Regions from separate parts of the Homo sapiens genome. Here regions 1, 3 and 4 are each linked to region 2. Evidence: promoter capture Hi-C in 16 types of primary human blood cells and fetal thymus (Javierre and others, 2016). All regions are on one chromosome and are shown on one strand. Each heading gives the region's core, a stretch centred on a gene start or on the middle of the fragment in contact. The rest is flanking DNA. Distances are from core to core; before and after follow the strand shown.

Region 1 (6,096 bases), core at 3,035-5,534, 970 kb before region 2:
GTGACCAGGAGGGAGTAGAGATGAACGAGCAGGCTAACAACTCACCAAGAATCTTAACAGTGAAAGGAAGGTAAGTTATAAGGCAGCATGAAGAGACAAGCACAGGGTCAAAGATAGTTTTGATTTGTTTTTTCCCTGAGAATTGAGGAGAAGCATTTTCCACCAAGGGCAAGGGACAGATAGGCAGGGAGGAGCTGAGAGAAGAAACAATCAGAGCAACAAGAGGAGCTGGAACAGGATTGGGTCAAGGACAGGATACTGGGATAGCCTTGGCTGAGAGAAGGGACTCCTGGCCCATGAAACAGGATGCTGAAATACAGTTACATTTTGCGGTGAAAGGGAGGGAGGGTGAAGAGACTCATCTCAGTTTGGCTGGTTTTTTTTTTTTTTTCCTATGACATTGGTAGTGACATCAGTTGAAAGGGGAGTATAAGGTTGAAGACTAATGGAAAAGTGTGAAAGAGCTGCTATGGAGGAAGGGACAGAGAAAAGCAGGGATGAGTCAAAGGATCCCTAAGTGCTGCTGCCAGTCCACAAAACCAACAATGGCTGTGCTGCTCTGTAGTGCCCACAAGTTGTTCAGCAAATGACCCTGGTGTGATGCCAGTTTGTTAAATCCCACTGGGTAAAAGAGGCCTCTCTTCAAGGAGCTGGCAGGAGTTACAGGTGCTGGATGTCAGAGATGGCAGAATTCTAGCTTCTAAATTATACCAGGAAACATAATGTACAGGCATCTCGGGTGTGTTGGCCAGAAATAGGAGGTATCATAGGAAATTGAGGAAGCTAGTGCCCTTGGGTGACCATATCCACTGTTGCCTTTCCCATAGGATTGAAAAACCTCTCTTTTCAGAATCAAGGTTGGGTACCTGGCTCCCGAGTAACCAGAGGTTGTCAGTTCTGATCGATGTCATCCTCCCCATAACTCTAACACTTATAAAGTGCTTCCTAAGCACTTAACATACATTGAATTGGCTGGGCACGGTGGCTCACGCCTGTAATCCCAGCACTTTGGGAGGCTGAGGCGGGCGCATCATCTGAGATCAGGAGTTCGAGACCAGACTGGCTAACATGGCAAAACCCCATCTCTACTAAAAATACAAAAAATTAGCTGGGCATGGCGGTGTATGCCTGTAATCCCAGCTACTCGGGAGGCTGAGGCAGGAGAATCGCTTGAAGCTAGGAGAAGGAGGTTGAAGTGAGCCAAGATTGTGCCACTGCACTCCAGCCTGGGTGACAGACCTAGACTCTGTCTCAAAAAAAAAAAAATCTATCTATCTATCTATCTATAGAATTGTTTATCCATATATATAATCAAGGAAATTGAATTCTAGGAAGGTTAAATAAATTGCCCAAGTCTACACAGAGGTGAGATATGAGCCCAAGGAATCTAGATCCAGGATCCATGCTCTTAACTAGTAGGAACAGCCTTCACAGAAGCTGCTGCCTATTTCTGTAACTTTCACTGCAGTCCAACATGAATGCAAGGCAAGTCAGTGTCTGGAGTGAGGAGACCTCCGTGTCTGCCTTTGCAGCTCTTCTGGCCCAAGTGGCCAGGCTACTAGATCAACCATTTGAGCACCAGATGACACAGAATAAAGTCTCACATTAGCAGCTTGAGTTAATTCCACTTTTTACTGCAGAACCTGAGCCAACTGCATGGGGGACCTGTAGTGATTCCATTTTCTTTGTGACCTACAGTTGGAATTTGCTTAAGCACTGAGAGTGCTGGAAGCCAGGAAGCAGTGTGAAGATGCTGACAGTCTGGGATTTCTGTTCCTGGGAAAATGAACTCTTGCCGAAAGAGCAGTGGGTGGGTCCCACAGACCCTGCTCGGAGCTATTTTTAGAGGTGTGTTCATGGTTGTGTGGGTTGGATCCACTGGACTCAATGTAGAACAGGTGTGAGCTGTTTGTGACTGAGTCCCTCTGGATACTTGTGGCAAGAGACTACCTTATCCCTAGGCTTTGTCTGTTAGGAGAATGAACTAGAGCATCAGCCCTGATCAGCCTTCACTCAGCAACCACAGCCAAGCTGGCCAGATCCAGCAGCCAATGAGGCCTCTGGTCACCTATGGTGGCCCAGGTTGCAGCTGCCTTTTCTAGGTCTTCAATATGCTTGGTTTGAGACCTTGATCTGGAGTATGGGAAGGGTCATAAAGCTGAAGCACTGAATGGCCTGAGAGGCAATTCTAGGAGAGAACCTGGTTCCATCTGTTCCTCTTTCAACTTCTCCCTTCCTGATAATCACCAATAGCAGTTAATAGCAAGCATGTTATTGAGTATTTCCTACATGCATGATACTGCACTAATCGTACTATCTTACTGAGTCCTCATAAAGCCTGTATGTGGTAGGTACTATTATCTCCCTTATTTTATAGTTAAAGAAATCCAGACTTTTGAGATAATTTACCTTGGATCACACAGCTGGTAAACGTGGCAATGCCAGGATTCTAATTCAGGCCTCACTCCAGACTCCATGTTCTTAACTGTAATATTAATAGTATATACTATCCCATCCCACACAGGCCCTGGAGCAAGATTTCTTTTCTGAGCAAATATTTCCCCTCCAGCTCCATGCCTCTCTGAACATAAGTATCTCCCCTTTGCCCTGAGACACCACCACCTTGGACTGCTCAAAGGGCAAGGGCTCCTGCTCTGGCACCAGGAACCTCTTCTTCCAGAATCTATGCCCTCTGTAAAGGAGAATGAAGACGATAGTGTTTCTACCTTCAAAAGCATGAGTTCAGAGAAACCAGCTCTCCACACCACCTCAGCTGAAGCACAGGAGAAAGGGTGGGTGAGCCATGCAGATGGGAAGTGCTGCAGACCTGGGCTACAGGAGGTGGGGAGGGAGGGCCAGCAGAGGTTTCCTGGGAAAAGACAGCCTGGATGGAGTCAGTTGAAGTGGATGAGAGTTAGAGAGGAGGTGGTCATCTGTGGTAAAAGCTCAGAAAAGGGAAGAAATACACTTGGGAGCTCATCAGGGTAGATATAAAAGATAAAACTAAAAAGGTAAGTTGAGGTTGGGCTGCTAATGGTCTCAAAGGCCAAGCAAGCCGAAGGGCCTGATTTTTCTTCCAGATTAAGGGTGAGTCCAGGGGGGCTCATCACTGGGGTCACAGGACGAAAGGGAATTTGTTTTTTTTGTTTTTTTTTTTAAGAAGATTTTAAAAATCTGGCAGTAGTGTTTAGGGTAGAGAATAGTGAAAATACTCTTATCACACTGCCAATGACATGTCTACACTTTGAGTTTTGCTTTTGTAAAATGCTCTTTAAAATTCTAAAAGTAGAAGAAAAATATCTGTTTTGCTATGAGTCATCCTGGGGGTTTCTAAAGTCTCCTTGCTTAAAGTTTCCCTAAGCAAACTTCCAACTGTCCACAGGAGCCAGCATACCCTGGGTCTTGGGACAAGAAGGGCCTTCTTACATTGCATCACATGCAAAATTAGTTCCTCCACACACATAACTTCTCCTGTAGCAGGCAGAGTTACAGTATCTGCCCCAGGGGCTGGGACAAGGCTCTGACAATCCCAGGCACATGTTGGCTGAAAGGATTTCTTGATTAAAAGCTTCATTTGGGATACAGGGAAAGAAGGACCAAGTGATGGTCAGTGCATTTCTTACATATTTCCTTTCAGTATCTCCCCAGTGGGGCTTAAAAAAAAAACCTAAGATGATGCAAACCTTTGCCAAAACGTCTGGTCATCTCAGCATGCTTTCTGGTGACTGTGATGCCCTAGGGGCTGGGCACAGACAGGATTTCTGCTGGGTTCTAAAGCAATAATTTTATACATATTTGGCAGAGAAAATGAATAAAGAGAACTAGACTGGGAGATAGAGAACAGGGTTCAAGACCAGGCTGCACCACTAATAGCTATGACACTAATACCATGAGGTTCTTAGCCCCTCTTGGGCTTTGTTAAATGAGGGGTTTGTACTATCCCATCCCTCCAAGCCCTCCAGCCCTATAATTGTGTTCAGTTGCCTCACTTTTCCCAACATAGCTTACCATATACCACATCACAGCTAGAGTAATTTTCTTAAAATACAAACTAGACCCCCCCCAATGTATCCCATGTCACTTCCCTGCTACAAGTCCCCCAGCACACAAACCAGGTTGCCCAAAAGCCTTACCGTGGCCTTCACTGTCCTGCGTGATCCCAGCCTCTGCCCGCCTCTGTCTGCCATCACTGTGCTCAGCCACATGGGCTCTCTCTCAATCTGGACAATCAGCAGACTCCATCTTGCTTTAGGACCTTTGTATATACATCATCCCCTATGCCCCATTTGCCTGGAATGTTCTTCACCCCATTCTTCACCTGACTCATTCTTACTGCTCTTTCAGTTTTCAGCGAAGTATAATTTCCTCAAACTCCCTGACCGCCCCAACCCCCTTCTCCATCAAAACAGCAGTCCCGTGTCTTCTGTTCTTCCTCCAGGCACACTTATTGTTTGTAATCTGAGGTTTATTTCCTGGGACTGTTTCACCTACATCTCCAGTATTAGGTAGAAGATCCACAAGAGGCTGGTTCTATTTTGCTCACTACTATACACCCAGTACCCAAACTCAGTACAGATTTGCTGAATGAGTGCTGCTGCACTCACACAAAAGCCAGCCAGCTCAGTGTCCGGGAGTCGGGGTCCGGGCATCTGCATGCCCCTTCCAAGCTGGACACTTCCTGGTTCTTCTGTCCTTCTGCAGTTACAATGTCAAATCTCTAACCTGTCAGCTGCTTTTGCCCTTCCTGCCTCTGAAAAACACTCAGCCTAAAATCCCTTCGTGTGAAAATAAATTCATACCTATCTTAGCCAATTTAAAGGCAGCCACAAAAGAGGAAACAGCCTGAATTCTAGGAGTATGATGCTACTCCAGCCCCCAACGTCCGTTCATTCCTTGCTCATACCACACACTCAGGTTTATCCTCTAAAGAAAGGGCATGAACAACTTGCAACATAAACCCTCAGCTTCAGAGCATTCAAAGAGAACTCCCTGAAAGCTTTCCTCCGGAAATGCAGAAGCTCATTCTGCTGACAGCAGATGTGTGCTCCACCGGATAACATCAGAGTGAGAACGAGTTAAACAACTTCCGAATCCAATGCATTTAAAAAGGCAGCAGCTTCCTCCCTGTGTCCTCAAACTGAAAAGCGGTGGGCACATTCTTCTGGTCACGGTGTTTGGAGCCTCTGACTGTTTAGGTGCCAAAGTTAAAATAACCAACTTTCCTCACTCCATTCTTGCCTTTCTGTACAGAGGCTCATTCACTAGAATGTCAGTGGAGAAACAAAGACAGCTGACTGTTTTCTCCCTGGTGTCTATAATTAGATTCTCATGAAGAACTTGGCCACAGCAGGGCTTTGCTGGACAATACCTCCCCCTACCACACACAGGCACACACACCCCAAAACACCCCAAAGCGTCTCCCCCTCACTTATCTCCACGGAGACCCAGACAAAGCAGCCAGTCACTTACCCTCTTCAGCCACGAGAAATGCTTGTAAACATCAATGTCCCCATCCATGCTGGGCACCCATGTCAGCAGTTAGATGCCTTGGTGGAAAAAGCCCTTTTCCTGGCTGGAGACCAGTTCTCTCCTCTTCCTTGCCTCTGCCCCCTCCCCCCTCAAGAACTCCAAGCTGTGTTCAAATTTCCCCACTTCCCTGGCCTGCGTCCTTCAGCCTCTCCCTAGACAGTTTCAGACACACAGCGACACAGAGCAGACCGTGCTGCTTCAGTGTCCTCCCCGACCACCCCAACAAACACACACACACACACACACACACACACACACGCACATACATGCACGCACACGCACCAGGACTGGGATTCAGAGCCCTGCGGAGAAATCAAATGTCACACAAAGGTAGAGAAAAAAGAAAGAAGACTTGGACAGAAGTTGTAAACATGACACACACGCACACACACACGGGACCATTCTCAGTGATAATACCGGAGCCTGCCAGAGGGAAACAGTCCTGAAGAAAATTCCTTGTCTGGCTTCCCCCTTCTGGAGTGGCTGGAACTCATTACTGAGAGCCCCGATTTCCTGTCTCTGCTTCACTCTGCATTTACCCAGGGCTCCCAGCTGCTCTCAGTTTAT
Region 2 (3,763 bases), core at 1,006-3,505:
AAGCCCTGCTGAACCCTCAACTATTGACTGCTGCAGACAGCTTATCTCCCTAACCCTGAAATGCTGTGAGCTTGACTTGACTCCCAACCCTACCATGCTCCATCATACTCAGGTCTCCCTACTCCTGCCTTAGATTCCTCAATAAGATGCTGTAACTAGCATTTTTTGAATGCCTCTCCCTCCGCATCTCATCTTTCTCTTTTCAATCAGGCTTTTCCAAAGGGTTGTATACAGACTCTGTGCACTATTTCACTTGATATTCATTCCCCAATTCACTGCAAGGAGACCTCTACTGTCACCGTTTACTCTTTCCTACCCTGACATCCAGAAACAATGGCCTCCAGTGCATACTTCTCAATCTTTGCTTTATGGCCTTTCCATCATAGTTGCCCACTCCCTCTCCTTACTTAGCTTCCAGGTCTTAACTTCTCTGACTACTCTTGTCTTCCTCTCTCATCAATTTCTGCTTCTTCATGGAATGCTGACCTTCATTGCTCCATTTGTAGATTTTTGCTCTTCTCAGTTTACTCATTGTCCCCTGGAACAAATCACTGACATCTACAACCATTACCATCTCACTAAATAAGACTTTCTATCCAATAATGATTGATACCTCAAATGTAAGATGCGTGATACTCAACATTTCATCGTCCACCTTCCCAACCCCAAACAATTCCATCTCGTTTCTTCTTGGTAAATGATGCTATGCTTTTTCCAACCAAGCCAGAAACCTGTGTCATCTTTTCACCCCACCTTCAATCAACAAGTCCTCAATCAACAAGTCCTACTGACTGCACATCTTAAATATATCTTTATCAGTCCACAAGTCCTTCCAATTATATTTCCCAAGTATATCTAGAACTTATCCACTTATATCCCCACTGCTACTACCTTAGTTTAGGGCTATATTCTCTTGAAAAAAAGTGTCCTTACTTCCTGCCAATCCCCAAGTCATCTTCCAGAGTAAAATGCAAATCCCATCAGGCCACTTGGATGAAAACCCTTCAAGGATTACTGGATAGAATTCAGGCTTTCCCCTCCAGCCCCCAATCATAGCTCACAAACCTTCCTTGCTATTTGTTCTTAAGTAAAAAATCATTTTTCCTCCTCCCTCCCCAAACCCCAAGGAACTCTCACTCTTGCTCAAGCTGTTCCGTCCCCTTACCACCCCTGATACAACTGCCAGGTTAATTTCCAGAATTCTTGCAAGACTCAGTTCAGAAGTCACCTTCTTTCGTGAATGTTTTGATTCCCTGAGGCTACTTTATTTTGGTATGGCTGAAAAATCCTAGATTTTCTAAACAAAACCTGTTTGAATCTTGGTTCTGATATGGACTAGGAGAGAGACTGGGTCAAGTAAGCTTATCTCCCTGAGGCTGTTTCCTCGTCTGTTAAGTGTGAATATCAATACCTGCCTTTCATAATCACCAGGGAATAAAGTGGAATAATGTTGATAACAGTGCTTGGCACCTGGAAGTAGGTGGCAGATGTTAACGCCCTTCCTCCCTTGCACTGCGCCCCCTGTGCCTACCTCTAGCATTGTAACGACCACGTAGTATTGAAATGGCCAGTTTACTTGTCTGCCTTCCTTTCCAAGACCGTTGGTGCCTAGAGGACTAGAATCGTGTCCTATTTAACTTTGTGTTCCCAGGTCCTAGCTCAGGAGTTGGCAAATAAGAATTAAATGTCTGCTACACCGAAAACCTCACGCCTCTCATTCGTTGTGATTTTTGCATATGTTGTTGACTCAGGCTGAAACTCCTCCTCCTCCTACAGCAGCACTGTGTGCCGCCCCACTGCTGCCCCCACCTCTCGGGGCAGCTGGCGGAGAAGAGAGGGGGCTTTCCAAATCCACTATGAATCCTTAAAAGGCTGAATAAGGGAACTTGAAACGATGCAGACAGGCAGGCAACCCGTAGTCGAGGGACATAGGGCCATAAACGTCGAAGCCAGGTCTTGAGCGTCAGACAGAATGAGGTGTCCCAGAGCGGCGGAGGAGAGCCAGACGCACGCTGGTTCCGGTCTGGACGGAATCGCCGCGGAGCACGGCAGAGGCTAGGGCGGAATGGCTACGGCAGCGCAGTTCGCCAAGGCTCGGTCTCCGCCCTGCAGCCTATTTCCTCTAACCCGCAGATCCACTATGGGAGGAGGCGGGGAGCGGGCTGGAGAGCACTAACAGAGACAGGCGGGGCGAGTCGTGGGCGCGTGACGTCACCCCGGGGTGTGCGCGGCGCGAGCGGAAGCGGAAGCGGCTCTGTTCGCCGCCTCTCCCACCGGCCCGATGAGCTGCAGCGGCTCCGGCGCGGACCCCGAGGCGGCGCCGGCCTCCGCCGCCTCGGCCCCGGGCCCCGCGCCCCCGGTCTCGGCTCCCGCCGCGCTGCCCTCCAGCACCGCCGCGGAGAACAAGGCCAGCCCCGCGGGGACAGCGGGGGGACCTGGGGCTGGAGCAGCTGCTGGGGGCACGGGACCCTTGGCGGCGCGGGCCGGGGAGCCAGCTGAGCGGCGTGGGGCGGGTGAGGGCCGGGACGGGTGAGGGCGAGGGAAGCGTCTTGGGCTGGGTCCAGCGGCGGGTGAGGGCAGAGGGTATAGACAGACCTAGCTGGGGCCCTGCGCCTCCCACCTCTGTGTCTCATTTTGCTGGTTCTCCTCCAGCTCCGGTGTCGGCGGGTGGCGCGGCGCCCCCGGAGGGGGCCATATCTAACGGGGTTTACGTACTGCCGAGCGCGGCCAACGGAGACGTGAAGCCCGTGGTGTCCAGCACGCCTTTGGTGGACTTCTTGATGCAGCTGGAAGATTACACGCCTACGGTGGGCTTCCGCCCGAACAAGGCCACCTAGCCTGCTGTCAAAACTTTCAGCCACATCGTGCTTTTCAGCGTTCTCTTCCATTTGCTCCCCTAGTCGCTCTTCTGTGTTTGCCCTCTGCTCACCCAAACTGTGAGCTTCCTGATAATCAGGCCTATCCATTTCCCTCACCCTCCTCCCGCTCTGCTGACAGTTCTCTTAATTGATTTCTCAGATCCCAGATGCAGTGACTGGTTACTACCTGAACCGTGCTGGCTTTGAGGCCTCAGACCCACGCATGTGAGTAAACCCAGGGCAGGTTAGTTTTGGGTGCTTGTGCAGTATGTTGTCCATCTCCTTCTCATCTAAGTTTTTTCTCTCTAGAATTCGGCTCATCTCCTTAGCTGCCCAGAAATTCATCTCAGATATTGCCAATGATGCCCTACAGCACTGCAAAATGAAGGGCACGGCCTCCGGCAGCTCCCGGAGCAAGAGCAAGGTGTGAGGGGAGGCTTAATGAATCAGTAATTACCTTCCACAACAGTGGAGGCTTATCCTGCCACCCCTTTGGGGAAACTGAATCGTAGGGGAGGTGTAAGACTTACTCAGGGTCACCCATCTGGGATTGAAGTCCGGGATTCCTGTGCTCAGTTGGTGCTCTTCCCTCTTCCCTCAGGACCGCAAGTACACTCTAACCATGGAGGACTTGACCCCTGCCCTCAGCGAGTATGGCATCAATGTGAAGAAGCCGCACTACTTCACCTGAGCCACCCAACCTAAATGTACTTATCTGTCCCCATGTCCCCACACCAGCCTGTTTTCATAATAAACTTTATTGTGACAGGCGGGGCTGATCCCTCCCATGTTGGGAGACACCATGTGGCAAGTGACAAAGCTCTGAGCCCGCCCCTCTTGGGGCCACAGTGGTAGGGATGGGGGAAGGGGATGGACCCCATGGCTGGGGTAGTACCATGACTGGA
Region 3 (5,493 bases), core at 2,569-5,068, 900 kb before region 2:
GTCTGGCCACAGTACAAATTAGATAACGGTCCAAATGGCCGGCAAATGAAACATTCGACTTTACAGTTTTAACTGATTTAAGCAAGTATTGCCAACGACCGAAGAAATAGGAAGAAATTCCTTATTTCCAGGCCTTTTGGCACTCAGATCACAACCCGACCTCTGCAATTCTTGCTCACCTGTTCAAATCCTTCTCCTCCATTCTCGCAGCCCTGATCGCCTTTCTCCTCCCGACCATACCTCTTTTTCCCCGTTAGATCCAGCAGACTGCTGTCCATTCCTCCCAGACTCTACCTCTCCCTCTCAACCATCTTCTTTAACCCCGCAAGCCTCCTCTTTATCTTCTCAGCCGCAATCTTCTCAGCTGCCATCTTCCCAGTCGCCATCTTCTCAGCTGCCATCTTCCCAGCCACCATCTTCCCAGTCAGCAGTACCCACTTCTTTTCCTACACTGTCCTCTCCTGAGGACAACTCTAGCACTGCCTGTACTCATTCTCCTTCCTCACTGCCCTCTCCTGAAGCCTGTAAACCCATCCCGCCACCTTACGCCCCTATCTGTCCTCCACTGCTTATCAACTCAAACCCCCTTTCCCCTTCAAACCCTCAGCAGGAACGACTTCTGACTTCTTCCTTCTCTCCCGCCCATACTCGCTCGAGCGCCATCTTTGGCTCATGCCCCACCCTCACTTCAGCGCCAGTGCTAGAGTGTCCCCTTTGGGAAGTAGCAAGAGCTGAAGGTATTGTTAAGAGTTCATGTTCCCTTCTCCCTCACTGATCTCTCTCAAATTAACAAAAGACTCGGTTCATTTCCAGACGACCCTACCTCTTATATCAGGGAGTTTCAGTACCTTACCCAGTCTTATGAACTAACTTGGCATGACCTCTACGTTATCCCCTCTTCCACCCTCACCCCAGAAGACCAGGACTGTGTCTGGACCCTAGCTCAGGTGCATGCTGACACAATTCATCAACAAGCTCCTGCCAAGCCTACTGGTGCAGAGGCAGTCCCCAACCAGGACTCCCACTGAGATTATCAAGACAGGGCCTCTAGATGCTGCCATCGAGACCACACGATTATGTGTTTCCTTGCAGAACTCAAAAAGGGTGCCCATAAAGTGGTAAACTATGAAAAACTTCCAGAAATCACCCAAAGTCCTGACAAAAACCCAGCCCTTTTTCTCTCTCATGTAACTGAAGCCATGAGAAAATATACCAACCTAGACCCAGCCAACCCAGAAGGAACCACTATCTTAAACCTTCGGTTCATCTCCCAATCCATTCCCGATATTCGGTGCAAGCTTCAGAAGCTTGACGACGGCCCTCAAACCCCACAACAAGACCTTCTTAATTTAGCCTTCAAAGTCTTTAACAATCATGATGAGGAAAGTAAAAGGCAAAAACAGGCAGAGTTTCAAATGCCTGCCTCCGCCATCAGGGGCCCTGCAGGCCCACGGGGCCACAGCTCCACACAGAAGCCTCCTAGCAATCCACCTCCACCTGGCGCCTGTTTCAAGTACGGCAATGAAAGCCACTGGTCCAGACAATGCCCATACCCAGGTAAGCCCACCAGGCCGTGCCCCCTCTGCGGAGGACCCCACTGGAAGTCGGACTATGAGCGGCCCCTGCAGGGACCGCCCCCCATCCCTTCCTGAGCAGGCCAAAACCTCCTACTCGGATCTCATTTGCCTTGCCGCTGAAGACTGATGGTGCCCTGGAATGGATGCCCCGGCAACTACCATCACTTCATCCGAGCCAAGGGTAACCCTGATGGTTTTAATCAACATGGGTGACCTACTCTGCTTTACCTAATTTTTCAGGACCCACCCAGTCCTCCTAAGTCTCTGTTGTGGGAATTGATGGACAAGTCTCCTAACCCCGAGCCACCCCTCCACTTTTCTGCTTCCTGCACACCTTTTCCTTCACTCACTTTTTCACCCCAAACCTGGTCTCATTCCCAACTCTGCTCCTAGGCAGGGACATCCTTTCAAAACTCCACACTACTCTCCACTTCCACATTCCCCGTAGTACCCAACGCATCAACCCAGACCCCTCCGAGGCTTCTAGCTTTCTTCTGCTCCTCCAACCTCCCACCCTAAAACATGCAACCTTTCCTTACCCCTATCTGTAGTTAACCCCGCTGTTAGGGATATTTCCACACCCTCAGTTGCAAAACACCACACCCCTGTCCACATTACCCTTAAAGACCCCACACTATTGAAGCCAATCTGCTCCTCCCAGGCACCACCTCCCAAAAAGCTGAACTCATCACCCTCACTCGAGCTCTCACTCTAGCAGCCGGACAACAGTTCTCTAATTTAGGAGGATTTAAAACCCTGGTAGGGACAGTAATCTTCATCACTTTTTCTCCCCTGTGTTATCCCACTAATAATAAAAGCCACTAAAACTCTTATTGAAACTACAGTTAGCCACCAGACAATTCAGACTATGCTCCTGCTACAACGACACGATGGATACCAACACATCTCTCAAGAATACCCTAAAAATTAAGTTTTTCTTTTTCCAAGGAGCCCACACCACCCCTAAGTCACGCCTGAAGTAGTTATTGAGAAAGTCACCCCTTTTCCCTTTTTACTATAACCAAATAGACAGGAATGAAAGATTCTCCCCGGGGTCTGAAAGCTTGAAGAGATGAGTAACTCCTCCCTTCTCAGGCCCAGTCCCAAGGTGCAAGGCCAGTTGCGCCAGCAGTGTGCATCAGCAAGACAGCAGAAGCAGGAAGACAGCCGGCCAGAAGACACCTACCCTGGCTGGAAGACACGTACCCCTTGAAGACAGAGAGAGGGGCCGTCTGGGTACTGTGCAGAAGTTACATCAGACTGAGACACTTCTTGTTTACAGGAAACTATAAAACCCCTGCCTCGTCCTCACTTGGTGCTGACGCCATTTTAGGCCTCAGCCCACCTGCACCCAGGCGCTCGTTAAAACAGCACGTTGCCCCACACCGCCTCATGTTGTCTGTTGGCAGGCTCTCGGGGTTCGAACCAATACAAGAACCTTTCATAAACTTTACCTTAAACATTACAGTCTAAAGGCCATACCATTCCTCAGGCCCAAAGCTGAATCTTCCCAGCATTGTTTCTCCCTCCTCACTTCTCATTGCATCTAATCAGTCTAGAGACTGTCCCATTCCCTAGTCCTCTGTCCTACAGATTCTATCTCTCCGAAGTCTCCCTACCTGTCCCCACCTCATCACTCTCTCAGGCCCAAAATAAGGCCTCATCCCTTTGACCCTGGATCAGCCTCCCGGTTTCCTATCCGGCCTCGCCGCCCCCACTGTCTTTTTCCCTTGGAGTTTGCTTCCCACCACACTCCCAGAACTTTGCCATTGCAGCAGTTGCCTTCGGGTTTGTCAACAGAATCACCTGGGGGAACTTGGTAAAAACATCCCAGACTACTTAATCTGAACGTTTTACAAAACTCCCCAGGCGATTATGAGGCATAGCCAGGTTTGCAAACTGCTACTCTAAATCCTTGCTACACATAGGGAAATGATCAGCAAGCTCCTGGGAATCTGTTAGAAACACAGAATGTCAAGTCCCACCCCTGACCTATGGAATCATAATTTGCATTTGAACAAGATCCCCACAGGATTCTCAACTTTGAGAAGCTCTGCTCTACAGTGTTGTCAGACCATGCACTCCACAAATATTTACTGGATTTTCTCTGTATCAGGCTAGGAATTGGGAGGGTCAAGGACCAAGGTCTTTGACTTTGAGAAGTTCACAGAACCATCAGTCAGTCCCCTGCTGTGCCTTCAGACCAAGTCCAGACTTCTGTACTGGACAGCTGGGACTATTTTCCAGCCTTGTCACCAGCTTTCCTGACTAGCACTTGACATAAGAGCCAAGCTGGACCACTGGCCACTTCTCATGGTGAGTCCATGCCTGCCTGCCCACACAGTTGTCACAGCCCAGGCCACACTCTACCCTTCTCTGCCTCAAAAACCCCAGGAGGGATCCTTTGAGGTCCATCACATCACCCTTTCTTAAAATTATCCCAGATTTCCCTGCTCAGATGAAAGACAGGAATTCCCATAACTTTGTTCCTACCGCCTTCATGTCATTGATCTCATTCCACTTACTCTTTTAAAGTCAAAGCGCATCTCCCTTAGCTACCCAGTAAAGAAGGCATCATGGTAAGCAGCTTATCTCTCCAGTAGCAATAAGCTAACAACTGTCACATCACCAAATCTTAAAATAGTATTACTAATAATTGAAATATGTTAAATAAAACATGGATAAATGCAATCAGTGAAAACCTCATCAATCATCCCCATCTCCCACTTCAAATTTATTTAGCTATGAATTTAAGCAAAGTACAAATGGGTTGCCTCTCTTAAGCCAAAGAGAAATAATTTCTAAATTAGATAACACTTACAGCTTTCCATACACCTATAATAATGAAAGACTGAATATGCTGAAGATGAATTATGTCGAAAACCAACTACTTTTCTGTAGTTGACCATTTAACTTCACATAATACACTACAAATTTGAAAACACTTCAGATTTGTATTACAATCAATTAAGGAGGGGTTGAGAAAGGAGAGAGACGAAGAGAAAGACAGGAAGTAGACCAAAATATAGAAAAGGGACACGGATCTATACCAAATATCTGGCTGCTCTAAAAGTAAAAATATAATTAGATTCGTTTTTTAAGAAGATTAAACACTGGCAAGAATGCCTGTCTTAATCCTATCCAAACGCTGGAAGTTCTGTTCTCTTGTTACATAATCTTATTTTCATCCGAGGAAAAACTGCGGGTCTGGAATCTGATGTGATGAGGTGAGGAGGGAGCCCACTTTTAAATAGGACCGTCCCCATCCTGCAGTCTACTGGGACGCGGCGGCTTTAGATTTTAAAAAGTGTGCTGTATTTTTGCACTTACACTACAGAACTGGCTTTAGCCGAGGCCCTGCATCTAGACACACGCTGTGTCCACCAGAGAATTGCCTGGGCTGACAGACCTAAAGCTTCCGCAACCTCCTTAGGCTCCCTAGTCCACGCCGCTGCTCCCCGGGCTGAGCAGGGCTGGGACGCGCCGCACAGAACTCAGGGACCCCACCTCCCTGCGCATCTCCAGGGCCACGCTGGCACCTGCAGGAGTGCGGACTGTCCGCGGATCCCAGGCAGGGTTGGGTGGAGATTCGCAGCCAACCCACAGGAGTTCTGCCCTCCTCCCAGGCTTCTGGCCAGTGGAGTTGGAGAAGGGTCCCCGTCCTCGAGCCTGGGACACGCTCCGGGGCTCACAGAGACACTGACCCACACGTCCCCGTGGTTCGTAGCTCTGGGGGCGCTCCACTCCCTAGGTAATGCTCCCGACGGGGATCCCAACCCCGACCGCGCGGCAAGCCCGGGGTGTGGGGAGAGCCCACTGACCTGGGTACGGGGCCGAGGCTCCTCTCCGGGCGGCTCAGGTGTGCGGGCCGCTCCCGTGTCCCTCCCACCTTCAAACATGAGAGCCCAGAAGCGAG
Region 4 (5,641 bases), core at 446-2,945, 920 kb before region 2:
AAAACCAAACCACCACCTGGGGATGTGGACTTTTCAGGGCAGGGGGCAGAGAATTCTACTTTCCCTTCCAGCAGAACTGAGATTTGAACCTAAGTTCCTGATGACTCATTTGGTGCTCTTTCTACAGTGCCATTCAAACTCCCTGAATAGGTCCTAACATTCCACCAAACTCTCCTTACCTCTCACCTCACCACAGTTTAGAACCTCATCATCTCTCAGCCAGATTGCAAAAGCTGCTTCCTCTGGGCTTTCTACCTCTAGCCAACTTCCCTGCAATCTGTCTTTCTTTCCCTGTGCAGGCAAGACATGTTCCATGGAGCTCATGACATGCTCCTCTGCTCTCAAACATTCCTCGGCTTCACAGTGCTTTCAGGAGAGAAGCTGCATTTTGCAGCTCTGCCAAAGTCCTCTAATACAGTTAACCTTCCCCGCTATAGTCCTCACCACTCTGAGTTCCAGCTTCACTGGACCACGTCCTACCCTCGCATACAGAAATACCCCATTTTCTGTACTTCCTCTACGTGGGTGCTTTTCTCCATCTCTACTTTCAAATCCCACCCATGCTAAGGCCTTATCCAAATGACCACTGCCAGAAAACCTTTCCTAACACCATTACCCCTCATCCCTGAAGGTGCTGGATGCCTCAGCTCTGCTCCTGTCATATCTGGTACACACCTTTATCGTCAGAGCTGTCTATATTATTTATGAAGATGATAATAATTTGTATTATTTCTCAATGTGTCTGCCTCCCTGTCTAGATTAACTGCTAGAGAGCAAGGAGTATGCTCCATTCACCTTTCTATCCTCAGAGCCCAGCAAAGAACCTGGCACAGGACCTTCAGTAAATGTTTGTTGACACAAAATGTTAAGTGTTTGTGTACCTGAGTGGAAAGTGAAGGGAGGCTGGGCATGTAACCTTGGCCAGCACTCTGAAAGAAGGATTGGGGGCTATCCATGACAGCCTCTCTCATCGAACTTTCTCCACACCTGGGGTCCCTTCTCTCTTACAGCCAGATATTCAGAGGTGAAAGCGTCTCTACCATAAGGGGAACTTACGCTTGGGCCTGGCATGAGTGAGAGACATAACTGATGGATGCAATTGTATTCCTGAAGGACCAATGAGAAAAAAGGATGTCACTTCCCCTAATAGATAATAAAACCAGGCACTTCTCCCTATTCCATTATTTTAGAATGCTAAGCAACAACAACAAAAAAAAACAGATATGAATTGGTAAGTTTTCTCTATTAGCTGGAGCGTGCGTAACTTTTGCCTATAGCCAACTCCCTCCTACGAGCCTCCCTGGCTGCCTGCTGAGGAATAGGCCCCAGAATTTGGCAGGCTGGAGGTAAACACTAATTGAATTAATCAAAATGTATTCTGTAATTTGAGCCTTCATTTCAACATTTGTTGAACAGTTTAATTTTGATTCAATGCAATGCTTTTCCCCTTGCAATAAAAAAAGTTAAGTCAGTAGAAGACCAAAGAATTTCTTTAAAGACAGGCCTGTGTGCACTGTCAACAACAGCCTGGCCTCTGCCTCCATCAGAGGAGAAGGAGGCTTCCCCCGAAGGCCTGGGCTGGAGGGTATTAGCAGCTCTGTGTTCACTGGAGTTCCGAGGGCCACACGGGAGCCAGATGAAGACACTGCACAGAAACTACTGCTGCCAGAGAGCCTGACTACAAGTAAACAGCTCGGCCTGGAGCTGAGCCTTTGGACGAGGCCAGTCAGGCTTCCTCCACTAGCTAGCTGGGTCCACCATCCTCTCCTGGTCCCAAGGTTGGCAGGATCAGTAGTAAGTGCCTCTCCATGCTTCACCATGACACTGAGCCTTGTTCAATGAGGATTTTGGAAACACCCTGTTATGAGCTGAATTGTACCCACACCCTCAAAATTCTTATGTTGAAGTCCTAACCCCCAGTACCTCAGAATGTGACTATATTTGGAAATAAGGTCTTGAAAGAGGTAATTACATTCCAATGAGATAATTAGGGTGGGCCCTAATCCAATAGGTGGTGTACTTAAAAGCAGAGCAGATTAGGACACATGGGTACAGAGGAAAGACCATGTGAAGACAAAGGGAGAAGACAGCCATCTAAAAGTCAAGGAGAGGCTGGGCATGGTGGCTAATGCCTATAATCCCAGCACTTTGGGAGGCCGAGGTGAGTGGATCACTTGAGGCCAAGAGTTCAAGACCAGCCTGGACAACATGGTGAAACCCCATCTCTACTAAAAACACACACACAAAAACTAGCCAAGTGTGGTAGTACATGCCTATAATCCCAGCTCCTCAGGAGGTTGAAGCAGGAGATTCACTTGAACCCAGGAGGTGGAGGATGCTGTGAGCCAAGATCGTGCCACTGCGCTCCAGCATGGGCAACACAGTGAGACTCCATCTCCAAAAAGAAAAAAAAAATTAATAAAAAATAAATAAAAGTCAAGGAGAGGCCCCAAAAGAAACCAACCCTGCCAACACCCTGATCTTAGAGTTCTGGCCTCCATAATTGTGAGAAAATAAATTTCTGTTGTGTAAGCCCCCCAGTACTTTGTTATGGCAGCCCAAGCAAACTAACACACACCCCCATTTGATCCTACACACGCAGCTGGGAAAGTTATGGGAAGAAGGCAGCCTCCTCTCCAGGGCTGTCGGCCTCTATCCTGACCCACTGGTGTTCCCCTTCCCTCTTAATCCAGGAGAGACTTTCTTCACATCCTCAGACCTTAAACCACATCAAGGTAAGCACAGTTCCCAATATTCCTTTATCTGTATTCTTTGTAAGTCAGCTCTAAGTCGAATCCCACCTCTGGACCGAGACCATTTAGTGAGGCCAGATTTTAGGATGCTACAAAGAGGAAACCCTAAGATCCTGCAGCCTGACCAGATGTCAAGCTGCATTCAAGGGCCAAGAGCCCTGGGCCCAGCTATCTTCAACTCAGTTCAAAAGCTCCAGCATGTGGGGAGGCAGGGGAAGGGTTGGTCCCTAACCTTGGCTTGCCAGTCACAAGATATTTGCCACTTGGATCACTTCCCTCCCCTAAGAGTTCAGAGGCCAGAAAGTGGTTTAGGGACTTTCCCAAGAAAAGTGATCTAGGAATCCCCCACTTGCACAAGTGTTCCTGCAGGCCAAAGACAGGCCTGCTGGAGAATGACACTGTACTAGGTAGCCCCTTCCCTGCAGGCCCAAGTGGTTTTGCTCCTGGAAGTTTGTTAGCTGGACTCCAGGGGAGTGGGAAGGTCTAATGATCTCCTGGGACCTCTCTCCCATCTTTCTCAGCTCTTCCTTTCCATAAAGCAGAGTCTTTATTCCCCTATAGAAGATACCCAAACAGTTCCTCAGAATCAAAGGAAAAAGTGAAAATTACAGAGGTCTATGTGACTCCAAATGGCCACAGAAGGGGTAGTATAGACGCTGGGTCCCCATACCCCCAGCCTCAAGCCTTCTGAGGCTCCTTTCTTCCCAAGTGAGGTGCTTCTTCCCCTGAAGAAAGAGAGGAGCAGCATGCAGCAGAAAGAGCCCAAGCTTTGTCTTAGTCTGTCCAGGCTGTTTTAACAAAATTACCATAAATTGGGAAGGTAGCTCACAAACAATGGAAATGTATTTCTCACAGCTATGGAGGCTGGGAAGCCCAGGATCAAGGCACCAGCAGAGTCAGTGTCTGGAGCAGGATTGCTTCTTGGTTCACAGATGGTGCCTTCCAGCTATGTCCTCACATGGTGGAAGAAACCAGCTAGTTCTCTGGGGCCTCTTTATAAAGGAACCAATCTCAAGCATGAGGGCTCCACTCTCATGACCTAATCACCTCCCAAGGCCCCACCTCCTAATACCATCACTTTGGGGATTATATTGCAACATATGAATTTTTAGGAGACATAAACATTCAGACCATAGCAAAGTCAGACAGATTTGGGCTTAAATCCTTGCTCCACTACTTATGAGCTGGATTCGTTTTTTGCCTTGGGTAATATGGACATTAACCTCTCAGGTTACTATGTAATGGATATAATATCTGCCTTACACAGGGTTAGTCAGAGGGTTAAGAAAGAGGACAGAATAAACTACCCACCTCAGTGCCTGGCCCAGTAAGTATGTAACACTCTGCCTCTCCACATCAGAGAACATGTTCCCAACTGTACTATTCCAGAAGATGGATTTGGCCAAGACCCTTCATCAGGGCCTAAATGTTGGGATCAGGGTTAAAAAAACAACAACCATGATGTTGAGTTCCTTTGAGAAGTTGCCAAATCTCTTGCAGGTAGCCCCCAAAGTGGCAGACCCTGGGATACAGCAGCTCAAACAGCACACATGCTCCAGGTTTTCTGCGTCTCTCTAGCAGTACCTGACAAAACAGGGCAAGGTTAGGGCCACAGGGCCTTCCAGAGCTGAAGGTTTCCTAGGGATCACACGGCCACTCTTACAGCCCCTCGGTTCCTTCCTCAGCCATTCCACGAGGGTCACAAGGTGACCTGCTTAGGAACAGTGAACAGGCCGAGTTATGAGGCTCAGGGGCCATCCCAGGGGCAGGTACCTGACAGAGAAGACACCGCTGGGGAAATGGATTTTGGGAGGCCTCAAACATGGAGGCTAAAGCTGAACTGGGCTCTGTAGGGTTAGGGAGGGGAAGGGCCAAGTCTTGACCACGTTCATGGCTGGCTGGCTTTGTCCTCGGTGCAGCAGTCCCTGGCTCCATGCACTGGCATCAAGAGAGCCCATAATAACTCTAGAGATGGCCTTGAGAGAAGATGGCTGAGCCGTACTGGTATCTGAGAAAGGCCTCCCGGTTATTCTCAGTGGACACCACACTCTTTGGGGACACCGATAGCCAGACAGGCAATCACTCCAGGAATTACTGAGGGAAGGTTTCCATATACGATGTGTAACAGTGATGTAATGAGATGCATTTTTCATGGAGCCGATAAGATCTGTCTCATTAACTCCATTTCCCATTCAGCTGTCACTTGGCTTATCTAAAATTCTCTTTTAAATATAAATCATAACATTTGAGGACTGGATTTGTGACCCTGGAAGAGCCTTTAACGGGTTCTCACAGTGTACCTTATTAAGTGGTAGGACAAGGAGGTAGAGCTTCCTCCCACATTGTCTCCTGTTAACATGAAATCCTGCGTCACTGCAGCCCAGATGCTCCCCCAACTTCTTCCTCTGAATATTTCCTCTGTCTTCTCAGTGGTTACTATTGCCTCGCAGGTGGTCTCAACTTTTCTCTCCAGGCTGAGGAAAAGCCTCCCATTAGGAAGTCTGAAGGACCCTGGGTCCACCCTGAGGACAGAAGCAAGGCGTGGCCACCAGGGCTAGATCTGAGTTCTGAGCTCCAGGAGGAAGGCCAAACTGGATGGAGAACTGGGCCCTGGGCAGACCTGCTCAGCAACAAAGACTGGCTGACTGTACTAGATATACGCATAAGAACCCCAACTTGAGCAGGCAGTCCTCACCAACACCCACCTGCTCAGAGCTTGAACATGTGATCTGTGAAAACAATGTTGTCCTTTCATGCAGGTATCCCAGCACCCACTCTACACCCCTGCATGGGCAGGCTCTCAGCAAATGCTTACTGAACTGTATCGGTCCCTCCTCTCAACCCCTACAGCCCCACCTGGGTTACTGCCCACATTTCTCTGACTCTTA

The links. The method cuts DNA at HindIII sites, captures the fragments that hold promoters and counts their contacts. A CHiCAGO score of 5 or more calls a contact.
Region 1: a fragment that was not itself captured here is called in contact with the fragment with the promoter of TAF10 in region 2 in 1 of 17 cell types (M0 macrophages); the score reaches 7.0 in M0 macrophages.
Region 3: a contact is called between a fragment that was not itself captured here and the fragment with the promoter of TAF10 in region 2, in 1 of 17 cell types (total CD4 T cells). The highest score is 6.7, in total CD4 T cells.
Region 4: a fragment that was not itself captured here is called in contact with the fragment with the promoter of TAF10 in region 2 in 1 of 17 cell types (M0 macrophages); the score reaches 5.1 in M0 macrophages.

What each region holds. Positions count from the first base shown.
Region 1 is chr11:7,577,012-7,583,107 of GRCh38, reverse strand. All of the region lies in intron 3 of PPFIBP2 (PPFIB scaffold protein 2), which reads right to left. It overlaps LOC105376535 (a long non-coding RNA gene), which reads left to right. Exons shown (of 4, transcript XR_007062579.1): 3 at 1,699-1,848. Among named protein-coding and RNA genes, the nearest start is that of PPFIBP2, 66 kb to the right of the region's middle. RefSeq lists an enhancer at 4,786-4,865 and a silencer at 4,936-5,170. The HindIII fragment of the contact is 1,428 bases long and covers 3,571-4,998 here.
Region 2 is chr11:6,610,708-6,614,470 of GRCh38, reverse strand. It overlaps TAF10 (TATA-box binding protein associated factor 10), which reads left to right and starts at 2,255. Exons shown (of 5, transcript NM_006284.4): 1 at 2,255-2,513; 2 at 2,653-2,807; 3 at 3,019-3,083; 4 at 3,168-3,282; 5 at 3,460-3,763. The coding sequence starts at 2,282. The coding sequence ends at 3,549. It overlaps TPP1 (tripeptidyl peptidase 1), which reads left to right. Exons shown (of 13, transcript NM_000391.4): 13 at 1-1,703. It overlaps ILK (integrin linked kinase), which reads right to left. Exons shown (of 13, transcript NM_004517.4): 13 at 3,601-3,763. RefSeq lists enhancers at 1,779-1,828, 1,879-2,008, 2,464-3,051, 3,052-3,640 and silencers at 2,299-2,398, 2,409-2,608. The HindIII fragment of the contact is 6,165 bases long and covers 1,364-3,763 here.
Region 3 is chr11:7,514,027-7,519,519 of GRCh38, reverse strand. PPFIBP2 (PPFIB scaffold protein 2) reads right to left here. Exons shown (of 24, transcript NM_003621.5): 1 at 5,399-5,493. LOC124902806 (leucine-rich repeat extensin-like protein 5) reads left to right here. Exons shown (of 4, transcript XM_047428005.1): 2 at 4,915-5,402; 3 at 5,480-5,493. Among named protein-coding and RNA genes, the nearest start is that of PPFIBP2, 2.8 kb to the right of the region's middle. RefSeq lists an enhancer at 2,891-2,940 and a silencer at 5,426-5,493. The HindIII fragment of the contact is 2,352 bases long and covers 2,643-4,994 here.
Region 4 is chr11:7,528,611-7,534,251 of GRCh38, reverse strand. All of the region lies in intron 1 of PPFIBP2 (PPFIB scaffold protein 2), which reads right to left. All of the region lies in intron 1 of LOC124902806 (leucine-rich repeat extensin-like protein 5), which reads left to right. Among named protein-coding and RNA genes, the nearest start is that of PPFIBP2, 17 kb to the right of the region's middle. RefSeq lists enhancers at 2,948-3,117, 5,312-5,361. The HindIII fragment of the contact is 3,655 bases long and covers 1-3,522 here.